4 separate regions of the Homo sapiens genome follow, and all the other regions are linked to region 3. The links are contacts of gene promoters, found by promoter capture Hi-C in human tissues and cell types (Jung and others, 2019). All regions are on one chromosome and are shown on one strand. Each heading gives the region's core, a stretch centred on a gene start or on the middle of the fragment in contact. The rest is flanking DNA. Distances are from core to core; before and after follow the strand shown.

What was found. The method cuts DNA at HindIII sites, captures the fragments that hold promoters and counts their contacts. A contact is called where the count stands out against the background at its distance.
Region 1: a contact is called between a fragment that was not itself captured here and the fragment with the promoter of KCNK10 in region 3, in 2 of the 25 tissues and cell types used here (adrenal gland and bladder).
Region 2: a fragment that was not itself captured here is called in contact with the fragment with the promoter of KCNK10 in region 3 in 2 of the 25 tissues and cell types used here (adrenal gland and neural progenitor cells).
Region 4: a contact is called between a fragment that was not itself captured here and the fragment with the promoter of KCNK10 in region 3, in 1 of the 25 tissues and cell types used here (spleen).

Annotation. Positions count from the first base shown.
Region 1 is chr14:88,288,736-88,291,900 of GRCh38, forward strand. All of the region lies in intron 1 of KCNK10 (potassium two pore domain channel subfamily K member 10), which reads right to left. Among named protein-coding and RNA genes, the nearest start is that of KCNK10, 33 kb to the right of the region's middle. The HindIII fragment of the contact is 5,467 bases long and covers 1-3,165 here.
Region 2 is chr14:88,367,397-88,370,692 of GRCh38, forward strand. No RefSeq gene overlaps it. Among named protein-coding and RNA genes, the nearest start is that of SPATA7, 17 kb to the right of the region's middle. The HindIII fragment of the contact is 5,913 bases long and covers 1-3,296 here.
Region 3 is chr14:88,321,722-88,325,164 of GRCh38, forward strand. It overlaps KCNK10 (potassium two pore domain channel subfamily K member 10), which reads right to left and starts at 1,548. Exons shown (of 7, transcript NM_138317.3): 1 at 1,026-1,548. The coding sequence starts at 1,077. RefSeq lists enhancers at 894-1,553, 2,126-2,185 and a silencer at 1,836-2,075. The HindIII fragment of the contact is 9,751 bases long and covers 1-3,443 here.
Region 4 is chr14:88,271,470-88,274,664 of GRCh38, forward strand. The region is part of intron 1 of KCNK10 (potassium two pore domain channel subfamily K member 10); the gene reads right to left. Among named protein-coding and RNA genes, the nearest start is that of KCNK10, 50 kb to the right of the region's middle. The HindIII fragment of the contact is 5,825 bases long and covers 1-3,195 here.

The DNA of each region.
Region 1 (3,165 bases), core at 395-2,894, 33 kb before region 3:
TGGTCTTCTCATTTGTCCAAGTTAGCTCTAGTCTCAGGGACTGCACGTGTGTTGTTCCCTCAACCTGGAACAGTCTTGCCCAGGGCCTTACAGGGTAGCTCCCTCTCAGTGCTCAATGCTGCCTCCTCAGCGAGGACTTCCTTCCTCACCACCCCACTGCAGAAGGGCCATTCTCCCCTCCAGTCTCTTCCTAGCCCACCACCTGGCTTGATTTTCCTCAAAGCAACTTAGTGCTAGCTGAGATTGTATTCTGTACTGATTTGCTCATTCCCTGTGTGTCTCCCTCATTAGAATATAAACTTCCCATCTAGAATATATGATTCAACCCAGCACCCGGGTTGGTCTCATTATAACACCACTCAGTCTACAGTCCAACCTTCACCCCACCTCTGCCCTCCATGTAAAAATTTCCATTTCCCTAAAGGAAATCCTGGAGAAGATCAAGAGTAACATGGCCTTTAGGATTCAAATGCTGCCTTTTCTTTCTGACTCATCTGAATGTACCTCCTTCTTTGCCTTTTAAAGTCACCAGGTGGTTTTTCTATTAATCATGAAAGAAGAATCTCACTGGGCTTCTTCTCTTTTATTCACACAGTTCCTCAGGCTGAAGCAGGGCCCCATTAGTGTGGTGTAAGTGATCTTGGGGAGAATCCAGTTTGGTGGAATTAATCATGCCCTTACACAGTTTTTTAGATTCACTTGAAGACAAGGCAACATTTGCCCAAGTGCCAGGGCCATGGACTTGCAGCTTTGGGTGATGGCAGGAATGGGAGCAATGTTGCATCAGCCTCCTCTGGGAGCTCTGCCCACTGGCCCTCATCATAGCTGCTTGTGTGATCTGCTCCTCTTAAGCTGGCCAATCTTTAGCTACACACACAGTGAAGAAGAGAGCCTGAGGGTAAACCCACCCATCTTTTAAGGGGGCTGTGATGAATTGTTCAAGCTTAGAATCAGATAGACCTGAGCTCATGTCCTTAGCTCTGTGGCCTTGAGAAAAAATACTTAAGCTCTCTAAGCCTCAGTGTTCTTATCCTTAAAATGGAAATTATACCTTTCCCTTAGTGCCATGGTGAGATTTCAGCAAGATAATTCACTTGAAGTGCCTGGCACAATGCCTGGCACATAGTAAATACTCAGTAAATGTCAGCTACTGTGATTATTACTAAGGGCATCGTGCTTGTGTATCTATTTTGGCATAAGCATTGTGTCTTATTCACCTTGTATGCCCAGCACACAGCAGAGGCACACTGTAGATACTTACAGGACAACTTTTTAAATAATTGGTAGGATCAGCAGGATAATGTTCGGTCCCCCAAAGATGTCCATGTCCTGATCCCTGGAACCTGTGAGCACATTACTTTACTACTTTACACGACAAAGGGATTTTGCTGATGTGATTAAGATCTTGAGATCAGGAGATGATCCTGGATTATCTGGGTGGGTCCAGTGTAATCACAAGGGGGAGCGGGAGGGCCAGAGAGAGGAGGCATGTGAGGACAGATGCAAAGGTTACAGTGGTGCAGCCATGAGCCAAGAAACATGAGCAGCCTTTAGAAGCTGGAAAAGGCAAGGGAAGGATTCTCCCTAAAGCCCCCAGAAGGAAACAGCCCTGTGGACACCTTGATTTTAGCCCCATATGACCCACTTAGGAAGTCTAACATGCAGAATGATATGATAAACTTGTGTTGTTTTAAGCTATGCAGTTTGTGCAACTTGTTATAGCAGCAAGAGGAAACTAATGCAATTAGTAACATGTTCTGGGTGCTTGCTCTGTGCCAGGCACTGTGTACATTTCACATGAATGCCCTCACTAAGCCTCACCGCAGACCAGGATGGAGGTTCTACTCTTGCTCCAGTGTTACAGATGGAGAAATCGAGGCACAGGGAAGTTAGGTACTTTGCCCAAAGCCTCAAAACTTATAACAGATGGAACGAGACTGACGTTCTAAGCTCTCTACTATGTGCAAAGATGAAAATTTACAGATGAAAACCTTTTGAGAAAATTCTTGCCAATGTCCCTATAAGGTACAAAGCCCTAAGCTAACATGGCCACAAGGAAACAACAAAATTATTTCTGCAGGTCATGCAGTTGCTATATTCAGAGCCAGAGGAAGACCTTTTCATTCACAAAAAAAAGGCACCCACCATGCAAGTTGTGCAGAAGCAAAGCATTCACCAGAAGCTTCTAGGTCAGCGTCAGGAAACAGGCAGGGAGGTATTCAAGTGGCAGAACCGTGCTGTGGGAAGAGGCCCACTAGGGCAGCCTGACAGGTGGTCCCTCTGCCGCGGAAAAGGGCAGCACCTGGACTATTTTTATTCCCACACGTCTTGTACAAACTATTGCTTTCACCAGCAGAAAATCATGAAGAAGCCAAACACTGCAGAACTGTAAATAGTGGGAAACTCCTGGTCGTGGAAACCACGGTTGGCTTTCTCAGGCACAGGAGTTTTCTAACTGTGCACAGAAGCCAGCCTTGAGCACCCCGCCCCTCGTTCCCCACCACCCCAATGGAGCACCATGTCACCTGCTTTATATACTGAGCTTCCCTGACAGCTTTCATTCAAAGAGAGGGTTTCTCTGTTACAAGGCAATGTTAAGTGAGCCCTTTCCTGTTGTCTTGGGGTTTATACTGAGATCTCTCAAAACTGAAGACTGAGGATCCATCAATGCAGAGCTTGCATATGATCTCTAAGCCATATAAGAGAATTCGCTGGAGAAAAAGCATTTCTTAGCAGAAAAGAACACATAGCATTGCAGCACTATGGCAAATGAAGGAGCAGAAAGAGAACTGCTCAGAGATCAGAGGGGTTGGCAGAAGGGGGTCTCAGCATCTGGAACCCCAGCTGGGTGCCTGCTGAACTGCATACTTCATAGAATGCACTGCTACAGGTAGGGGCATGAGAGATTTGTCTGAACTCAGGGCTGCCACATTAACTGTGCAATTCTAGGAGAACACATGTGAATGATGCCCTCTGGAGGTGTGCAATGAGACGGCCCTGGGAAAATCAGACATGGGTGCGCAGTGTTTGGCCTGTAATGCAGGCTGAGGAGGGTAGGCAACAGTGGAGTCACGTGCTTTCCCCATATATGGCAGCACAAAGATGCCTAATGGTTTCTCCTGGGCCAAGTAGGCACTGGATGGGGTCAGAAGCTACATCAAAGCC
Region 2 (3,296 bases), core at 560-3,059, 46 kb after region 3:
AGCACACTTTGTTTAACTTTTATTTTAAGTTCAGGGGTACATGTGCAGGAATCATAGGTTTGTTACATAGGCACACGTGCATCATGGGGTTTGTTGTACCAATTATTTCATCACCCAGGTATTAAGCTGAGTATCCTTAGTTATTTTTCCTGATCCTCTCCCTCCTCCCTGCCTCCACCCTCCAATAAGCCCTGGTATGTGTTGTTCCCCTCTATGGGTCCATGTGTTATCATTTAGCTCCTACTTATAAGTGAGAAGATGTGATATTTGTTTTTCTGTTCTTGCATTAGTTTGCTAAGGATAATGGCCTCTAGCTCCATCTATGTCCCTACAAACGACATCATCTTGTTCTTTTTTATGGCTGCATAGTATTCCATGGTGTACATGTCCACATTCTTTATACAGTCTATCACTGATAGGCATTTGGGTTGATTCCATCTCTTTGCTATCATGAATAGTGCTGCAATAAACATATGCATGCATGTATCTTTATAATAGAATGACTTATATTCCTTTGGGTATATACCTAGTAATGATATTGCTGGGTTGAATGGTGTTTCTGACTTTAGATCTTTGAGGAATCTCCACACTGTCTTCCAGAATGGTTGAACTCATTTACACTCCCACCAACAGTGTACAAGTGTTCCTTTTTCTCTACAACCTCACTGGCATCTGTTATTTTTTGACTTTCTAATAATCACCATTCTGACTGGTGTGAGATGTTATCTCATTGTGGTTTTGAATTGATTTGCATTTCTCTAATGATCAGTGATGTTGAGATTTTTTTCATATGCTTGTTGACCACATGAATGCCTTCTTTTGAGAAGTATCTGTTCATGTCTTTTGCCCACTTTTTAATGAGGTTCTTTGTTTTTTTCTTGTAAATTTGTTTAAATTTCTAATAGATGCTGAATACTAGATCTTTGTCAGATGCATAGTTTGCAAAAATTTCCTGTCATTCTGTAGGTTGCTTGTTTACCCTGTTGATAATTTCTTTTGCTGTGCAGAAGCTCTTTAATTAGATTACTTTTGTCAATTTTTGCTTTTGTTGCAATTGCTTCTAGTGTCTTTGATGAAATCTTTGCCCAGAGTATACTTTCATATACCTGTTTGCCATTTGTATGTCTTCTTTTGAGAAATGCCTATTCAGATATTCTGCACACTTTTTAATTAGTTTATTAGATTTTTCTTTCTTATTGAGTTGTTTGAACTCCTTAGATATTCTAGTTGTTAATCCGTTGTCAGAGGAATAGTGTGCAAATCTTTTCTCCCATTCTGTGGGTTGTCTCTTCACTTTATTTTTTCCTTTGCTGTGCAGAAGCTTTATAACTTGATGTAATCCCATTTGTCTATATTTGCTTTGGTTGCCTGTGCTAATGGGGTATTGCCCAAAAAGTCTTTGCCCAGACCAATGTCCTGGTGTTTCCCCAATGTTTTCTTGTAGTAGTTTCATAGTTTGAGGTGTTAGATTTATTACTTAAATGCATTTTGACTTGATTTTGTTATATGGTGAGAGATAGATGTTTAGTTTCTGCATATGGATAACCTGTTTTCCCAGAACCATTTATTGAAGAGACTGTCAATTTCCCAATGCGTGTTCTTGAAACCTTTGTTGAAAATGAGTTAGCATAAACGTATGGATTTATTTCTGGGCTCTTCATTCTGTTCCACCAGTCTATGTGTCTGTTTTTATGCCAGAATCATGCTATTTTGGTTACTATAGCTCTGTAGTATAATTTGAAGTCAGATTATATGATTGCTCCAGTTTTGCTCTTTTTGCTTAGGATAGCTCTGGCTATTCTGGGTCTTTTGTGGTTGCATATACATTTTAGGATCGTTTTTTCATTTATGTGAAGAATGTCATTGGTATTTTGATAGAGATTGTATTGAATCTGTAGATTGTTTTCGGTAGTATAGACATTTTAACAACATCAATTTTTCCAATCCATGAACATGGAATATCTTTTCATTTTCTCATGTCCTCCTCAATTTCTTTCATCAATTTCTTTTATAGTTTTCACTACAGAGATCTTTCAGTTCTTTGGATAAATTAATTGCTAGATATTGTATTTTATTTGTAGCTATTGTAATTGGTATTTATAAGCTATTGTAATATTGACTTGCAAAAATTAGCCTGTAAGTACTAGACAGATGATTGGCAAGATGGCCAAATAGGAACAGCTCCAGTCTGCAGCTTCCAGCCAGACCAATGCAGAAGGTGGGTGATTTCTGCATTTCCAACTGAAGTACCCAGTTCATCTCATTGGAACTGGTTAGACTGTGGGTGCAGCCCACAGAGAGCAAGCAGAAGAAAGATGGGGCATTGCCTCATCCAGGGAGCACAAGAGGTTGGAGAACTTCCTCCCCTGACCAAGGGAAGCCATGAGGGACTCTGCTGTGAGGGACAGTGCTATCAAGCCCAGATACAACGCTTTTCCCATGGTCTTCACAACCCACAGACCAGGAGATTCCCTTGGGTGCCTATACCACCAGGGCCCTGGGTTTCAAGCACAAAACTGGGTGGCCATTTGGGCAGACACTGAGCTAGCTGCAGGAGTTTTTTTTTTTGTTTGTTTTGTTTTGTTTTTGTACCGCAGTGGTGCCTGGAATGCCAGCGAGACAGAACCGTTCACTCCTCTGGAAAAGGGGCTGAAGCCAGGGAGGCAAGTGGTCTTGCTCAGCATATCCCATCCTACAGAGCCCAACAAGCTAAGATCCACTGGCTTGAAATTCTCCCTGCCAGCACAGCAGTCTAAAGTCGACCTGGGATGCTCCAGCTTGATGAGGGGAGGGGCATCTGCCATTACTGAGGCTTAAGTAGGTGGTTTGCCCCTCACAGTGTAAACAAAGCTGCCAGGAAGTTCGGACTGGGCAGAGCCCACCACAATGCCAAAAAGCCACTGCAGCAGACTGCCTCTCTGGATTCCTCCTCTCTGGATAAGGCATCTCTGAACAAAAGGCAGCAGCCTCAGTCAGGGGCTTATAGATAAAACTCCCATCTCCCTGGGACAGAGCAACTGAGGGAAGAGGCGGTTGTGGGCACAGCTTCAACAGACTTCAACATTCCTGTCTGCCAGCTCTGAAGCGAGCAGCAGATCTCCCAGCACAGCACTTGAGCTCTGCTAAGGGACAGACTGCCTTCTCAAGTGGGTCCCTAATCCTAGTGCCTCCTGACAGAGAGACACCTTCCAGCAGGGGTCAACAGACACCTCATACAGGAGAGCTCCAGCTGGCATCTGGCAGGTGCCCCTCTGGGACAAAGCTTCCAGAGGAAGGAGAAGGCAGCAATCTTTGCT
Region 3 (3,443 bases), core at 298-2,797:
TTCTTTCCAGTCTGGAGAAAAAGAAGAAATGCGCTCATAAAGAACATTAAACACACACGCACCCCAAATAAACAAATTTCAATTCCAATACACACAGAGGCGTTGCCTAGCCTGACACAGTCGTCAGATGAGCTACAAGAAATGCTAAAGAGCATTCTTGTCACAACTGGACACGCGGTTCCAACTTGTTCTGCTCTCATACTGATCACTCCCTTGGAGCCTTAACATCTGTATGCTAATTACAGACACGGTGGCCGACGCTAGGCACACACAAATCCGTCTTAATCCCTCCCTTTTGCGTGGATGAAACCTGGTCCAACATTCGTAAAAGCATGCAAACCACACCATTGCTTGGGCGGGCACACTTCGTGCCCCTCCCCTATGCCTTGCCAGCCCCACCCTTCTCACAAACCACCCCTCCTCCTGCTTCTACTCTGACCTGAGCCTAACTAGCTGCTAGGTTTGGTAATAAGATTGAACGAAGACTCAGGAGGCCCTGTGGGCTCCATTATTCTGCATGCCCTGCGAGAACGGCCCACCCCTAGGGACGGCTGCTGCAACTCGAGCCCCACTTGCTGCCAGGAAACCTTTCCCACTGAGGACACCCGGGCATGCGGCGCAGCTCCAGGTCCAGGGGGAAGCACCCCACCCATCTGCCAGAGAGACAAAGATCACCAGAAACAAAGGACACACACACACACACACACACACACACACACTCGCACACTCAAAGTCAAAAGCAAATACCGACACTTGCAATTTCAAACCAAACAGTCGGCTTGGTCTATCTAAATAGATCTGGAGACAATCTAGGAGGGACAATGATTATGTGGTAATGACAGGCACTATCTGGGTTCGGAACCCACGCTGCCTCCGCCCTCCTCCCACCCGCGCTGCAGTTCCCAGGCGCATTTCCCAGCCTCAGGACACACGCTGCCAGAAGCAAGAGTGCTTCCACTCAAGGAAGCGCGCACACGCCGGAGACAGAGGCAGGGCGAGGGCAGCCAAAAGTAGGAAACACCCACCTTTAGGATCCCAGTTCACCTGTTTTCTTGGCGTCTCGATTGGAAATTTCATTGCTTCGTTGCCCAGAAGGGGAAGAAATGAAAAGAACCCAAATAATAATAAAGTCCTCAAGCTTTACACGCCTCGGTTTAGCAGTCCAACAAAACAATTTCCGAGGATGGGGGAGCCTTGGACTGGCTCGTGGAGGAACCCCAGAAAAAGACAGGTGGGAAAATATTAGCTTGGGGGAGAACTGGAGAGGGCTTGGGTGTTTGCACCGGCCAGGGGGTGGCCGGCCGCGGCCCCGTGGGTAAAAGAAAAAGTAAGATCGGCGAGGGGTGGATGAAAGGATGGAGAGGAAGGCTTGGGGAGATGGAAGAGCCAAGCTGCTTCCCAAAAGCGGTGCCGGCAGGTTAGGGGCTGCGCAGCCTGAAGGCTGGGGCTACGGAGAAGCCCACTGCAGTGTCACTCCAGCCCCCGAAGGCGTGTGCGCACACACTCCCGCACACACACACCCGCACACACACTCCCGGGCGCGCGCTTGGGCGGGCACGTCAGCCTCGCTCGGCCGCGCTGAGCGCACACGCCCCACCCCGGCCGCGGCTCCTCGCCCCCGGCGACGCCCCCCACTTCCCGCTCCCCGAAAGCCATTGGATGTAGGGGTGGCGCGGCGCCCGGGCAGCGCGCGGCGAGGGCGACCCTCCCCGCGGCGCGCCCCAGACGCCGCGCCCCGGCAAGAGGGAGCAGGGCGAGCAGCGGACCGAGGCTCCCAGCTGGGAAGGCGCGCTGAGCCCCCGGCACCCGGCTCGGGGCAGCGGGAGGCGGTCGCGGACTTGCCCGCGGGGCGGCGGGAGGCGGTGGGCGGTGGCGGGGAAGCCGCGGAGGGGCGGGGAACGAGCGGTGGGCGCGCCGCTACTTACTGGCTCGGCCGGCCGGCGGGCGGGCGTGGAGGCGGCAGCGGCGCGCTTGCTGGAGTTGCAGCCGGAGACACGCTTGGTTGCCTGGAAGGCGCTGCAGGAGGCGGAGGAAGGGCCGCTGCGGCTCCGCCGCAGACCTCGGCCTCCGGGTCACCTCTTCTCACCGCTCTCACCCTGAGCTCTCCCTCCTTCTCTTTTCTCACTTCATTTTTTTTCCTCCCGCGTCTGGCTCTCTCGCCTGAGTCCCGAACCCACGTCCCCGCCGCACTCCAAGGAGGCCCGTGCCAGCCATGAGCCTTTTGTTCTGGGACCGCTCCGCATCTGCTGCGCTCTCCCCGCCCGGGGAAGCTCGCTCCCAAGGCACAGCTTGGTCCCTTCCCCAGCTACCTGCAGCCGGACTGGGGCCGCTGGTCGTTGGCTGGAAAGGAGGCTTGAGAGAGGCACGGGGGCCCCCGGAGGAAAGCGGAGTTGCCAAGACCCGGCAGCTCCCGGAAGCGGCGGCCCCGGGATCCTGGGACCAGCAGGGCAGATGCGAAGGGACCCAGACCTGTTCCCGGAAAGGGGCTAAACCTGGAGCATTCGTCTAACGCCCTCTCACTGCCCCTGCTTGAAGCCCCACAGGGGTTTGTGGTGGGGCCTCAGTCTTCAGAAAAGCCAGGTGGTGCTGAGGTGCTCTTGAACGGGTCACTCCGAGTATCAACATGAATGATGCTGACAAATTGCTTCGGATGCCTCGCAACGGAGCCTTACACGTAGTAGGTGCTCAAGAAATACTTGCTAAATGAAGACATGAATTGCATGCTGCAGTGTTGGATAGGAAGTAGTTTAAACCCCTACTCTGGCTTCCAGATAAGGTTACTAAAATTTGTTGTTCATTCAACATATATATTGAACCCCTTCCAAGTGCCATCACTGTGCTATGTGCTGGCCATATGGCAGAGAACAAGACAGAGATCTTGCCTTCATGGGGCTTACTATCTAGTGCCATAAGGTCCTGTTAGATTGTTGTTGCCTTTACTTACGCATAGAAATTGCCCAGCTCATTCCTATGCCTGCCAGCTGGGGTCCTAAAATCCCACACTAGCAGCTGATCTCTAAGTTGCATGCTACTCTACGGCACCTTGAGGCTTCTGGGGAGCCCTATGTCAGCAGCATCTTTCTCACCATCCATCCGTCACTATCACATCAAGGTTTCTGAGTCCAAGAGCAAGACCTACAGAGGTCCGCTGTGGTCTGTGGGAAAGGTGAGTGCTTTGTCACTGGGCTGTCACAGGCACCCCAGGCTGGAGCCCTGAATTCTCTGCAAACCCCGTTCAGGCAAAACTGGTACCAATCTGATGGTGCTACTCTGACTCTTCAGCCCTTTAGGCAGGTTCCCGGGTGCTTCAGAACCATCTTCCCTGGACTCTGTAACCACACTTTGCCTCTCTCTACTAGGACTGGGAGGATGGCTAAGACATAGAAATCAAACAAACAAGGAATCTCTGCTTCTCCCAGCCATGCCCCGAGACACCAGTGTGT
Region 4 (3,195 bases), core at 99-2,598, 50 kb before region 3:
ATGGTTTGTACAAGCGCTAGAGTGGACAGACAAGAGACAGGGCAGTATTTTACTTCACTGGGCTCCAAACACTCAGTTCGGGCCTTTCTTGTTCCTTCATGAAGAGCTACAAGCCTCTCTTTTACTCAGGGGTACAAAATACTTGTGAGATTTTAAAAATTCTATTGAATGGCATGAGTCACACTTGGTGAGTCCCCTCTCTGGTGGAAGACAGGCAGAATTTACCCTGAGTCTGCCTTCCTGGGGTCCCTCTGACTGGGGCCAAACTGCATAAACTGTGATTTGAGGACCCAAAAGACTAAAGGGCTTTTCTTTCACCCCACAAGCTGGGGAGAGAACAAGGGGTTCACATGAGACTTAAAGGAGCAGTGACTTCCTTCTCGGGACTTGTAAGCTCGACAGTTTCCCCTGATTTTTCCCCAAATCTCTTCTTGTATTTATAAACCAAAGGTATGGCAAAAAAAAAAAAAAAGTCAGAAGCCTCTCCACTAGCAGACAGGCCCCAGAGAACAAGGTTATCAGGGTTAGAGGAAGCAGGGGGAAGGTTGGACTTCAACAGCCACCCAGCTTACCCCTACCATAGGTCTGTCTTCCACGATGGCCCCACCCTCCACAGGAAACACTGGGCAGGGCTCCTAAAAGACAGTCCCTTCTCCAAGCCTCCTTCCTCCTCCCTGGAAAGGGACAGAAGCAGTAGCACTATTGGGAAGATTTAACATAAAATGTACGGCATGTTGCTCAATGCCTTGTTCAAAGCAAGTCCTCAATCAACGTGAGCTGTCCACATTATTAGGAGGTGAAGAAAACTACGTGTTCTATGCAAGCAAATGCAACAAAGCGTGCAGATGCTGTGTTTGACAGAGGTGTGGGGGACAGAAAGACATGAAGAGAGAGTGTCAGTGCCACCGAAGAGGAGACGAGAATGCAAAGACAAGGTGCCCACTGGTGTGGAAAGGGCATTAGGTGTCTGCGAGAGGGCAGAAGGAGGTGGAGAGGAAGGCGGAACAGCAATGGGGGGGCAACAGATACAAAGACACTCAGCCATGAATCAGCCTGGGGCATTTGGGAAATTACCTCAGGTCTGCGTGTCAGGACTAGAGGGTGTGAAGATGGCTACACCAAAATAAAGCTGCAAAGACAAGCAGAGGAGAGAGTGTGGCTCTTGTTGGTCTTATTAATGAGCGTGGGAAGCCATCAAGGCTAACACAGGGAGAAGAGCCAGGGGGTCAGACCTGGGTTTAGCAAGCTGACTCTGGCAGCAGTGCGTAAGAGACATGCAGCAAGTGAGAGATCGTCTGTGGGGGGTGTGGGTAGGAGTTTACTGGAATGTATTATGAGGCCTCAACTCAGGCAGCAGCAGAGGAGGAGTCAGAGACAAGGCGTGTTAAGGAAGTAAAATGTGCGGGTCCTAGTGATGGATGCAAAGGAAGAAAGGAGGCGTCTGGGATGACTCTTATAAGCTTATAACAGTATCATGCTCTGCAAGACAGAAAATGCAGGAGAGTTAGGTGTGCAGCTCCTGTAGCCCATCCAGGTGGAGCTATCCAGTTAACATGAGGCATAAGGGACCAGAACTCAGGGGAATAATCTAGCTGAATCCCTAGATTTAAGAGTGATGAGTATGTAAGTGGTACTGAAGCCACAGGACTGGATGAAGTGGTCCAGAGGGAGATGTAAAATGAGAAGAGAGTAAAAGATGATGCTCAAGGGAGCAACATTTAAGGGACAGCAAAGGGAGGGGGATGCATGACAGAGAAAGAAAAAACTAGAGAGGAAAAGGGGAGAACTGGGCTGGGCGTCAGCATCAGAGATGGTAGATCTTATCCCAGTCTCTGTCTCCAGCACCATTCACAAGGCCTGACCCACAGGAAGTCTCAGTGTGTGCCTGATGACTTCAGTACTATACCATAGCAGCATTTTGCTGTTTTTACCACTTTCTATCTCGGGCTGCCAGGAAACCCTGTTCAACAGCACTCCTGTTCCAGAACTTCTGAGCATTTTTGGTTGCTCCTGGTAGCAGGTGGGATGCCTTTATTGTTCCGATAAAATAAACTCTCACCCTCCGACCCAGGGCACAAATTGCCCAGGACCAGAGCTATTCCTTGTGTGTGCTGAGCTGGTCAGAGCAGCCCAGGCATATCCGACTGGACCACCATCTTTTGGGATTTAGAGCTGCCTACCTCGTGATTCTCCCAATAGACTCTGACTCCGCCATGTTGACGAGATGGACTTCTTTATCCTGCCTCCATGATCAAGGCCCTAAAGGTGCACACAGCCACAGCTGGGGTTCCTTGTGTCTTTTTCCAAAATGCTTCCTGAATATCATATTCTGTCTCTTGCCCTAAGTTTTTTCCTCCACAATTTAAATTAACTAGCGCACTTTATACAGGAAAGACCTTTATCCTCCTCTTGGGATTAAAAGTAATACAAGCAGTCATAGTTCTCAAAATATCCCCTTTCCCTGGGGCCAAGGGTTTTAAATCTTATTGTCAACGCCATTCCTTCCAGATGTCTTTCCCAGGTGTCTTGTCAAAAGCAGTTATCTCTCCTCACTGGCTCCCGGAGGGGTCTCCCCCCACCCCCCACCCTGCCCTAGGCTCCACTCAGCAGCCAGGTGAGCCTTCTGAAATTCCCAGCTTGCACCTATTAAAACTCCACAAGCACCGCCATGGTTCTTTCCCTGGCCTCCAATGTCCCGTGTGCTCAGGGCTCATCTCACTTCTCCAGCCCTCCCCTCTTCTTCCACACACACTTCTCCCTTCCCAGCAAACTCCTTCAGTATCTGCAATCACAAGCAAATAGACCATAAGTAGTTATACTGTGGATCTACAGATCCACAGTAGAAAGCAAAACTGAAAAATATTTTTTGGCCTATTAGAAAGATCCTTTCCAAACCAGCCTGGCCAACATGCCAAAACCCTGTCTCTACTAAAAATACAAAAATTAGCCAGGCATGGTGGCGCACGCTGTAATTCCAGCTACTCAGGAGGCTGAGGCAGGAGAATTGGGAGGAGGAGGTTGCAGTGAGTCGACATTGCACCACTGCACTTTAGCCTGGGTGACAGAGTGAGACTCTATCTAAAAAAAAAAAAAAAAAGATCTTATGGCTTAAGTCCGTAACATGTCCTATTGCATAATTCCCTAGCTTTAAGAAATCTGTTCGCTGTGTCCCACCCAATAATGGTGATAACAAAT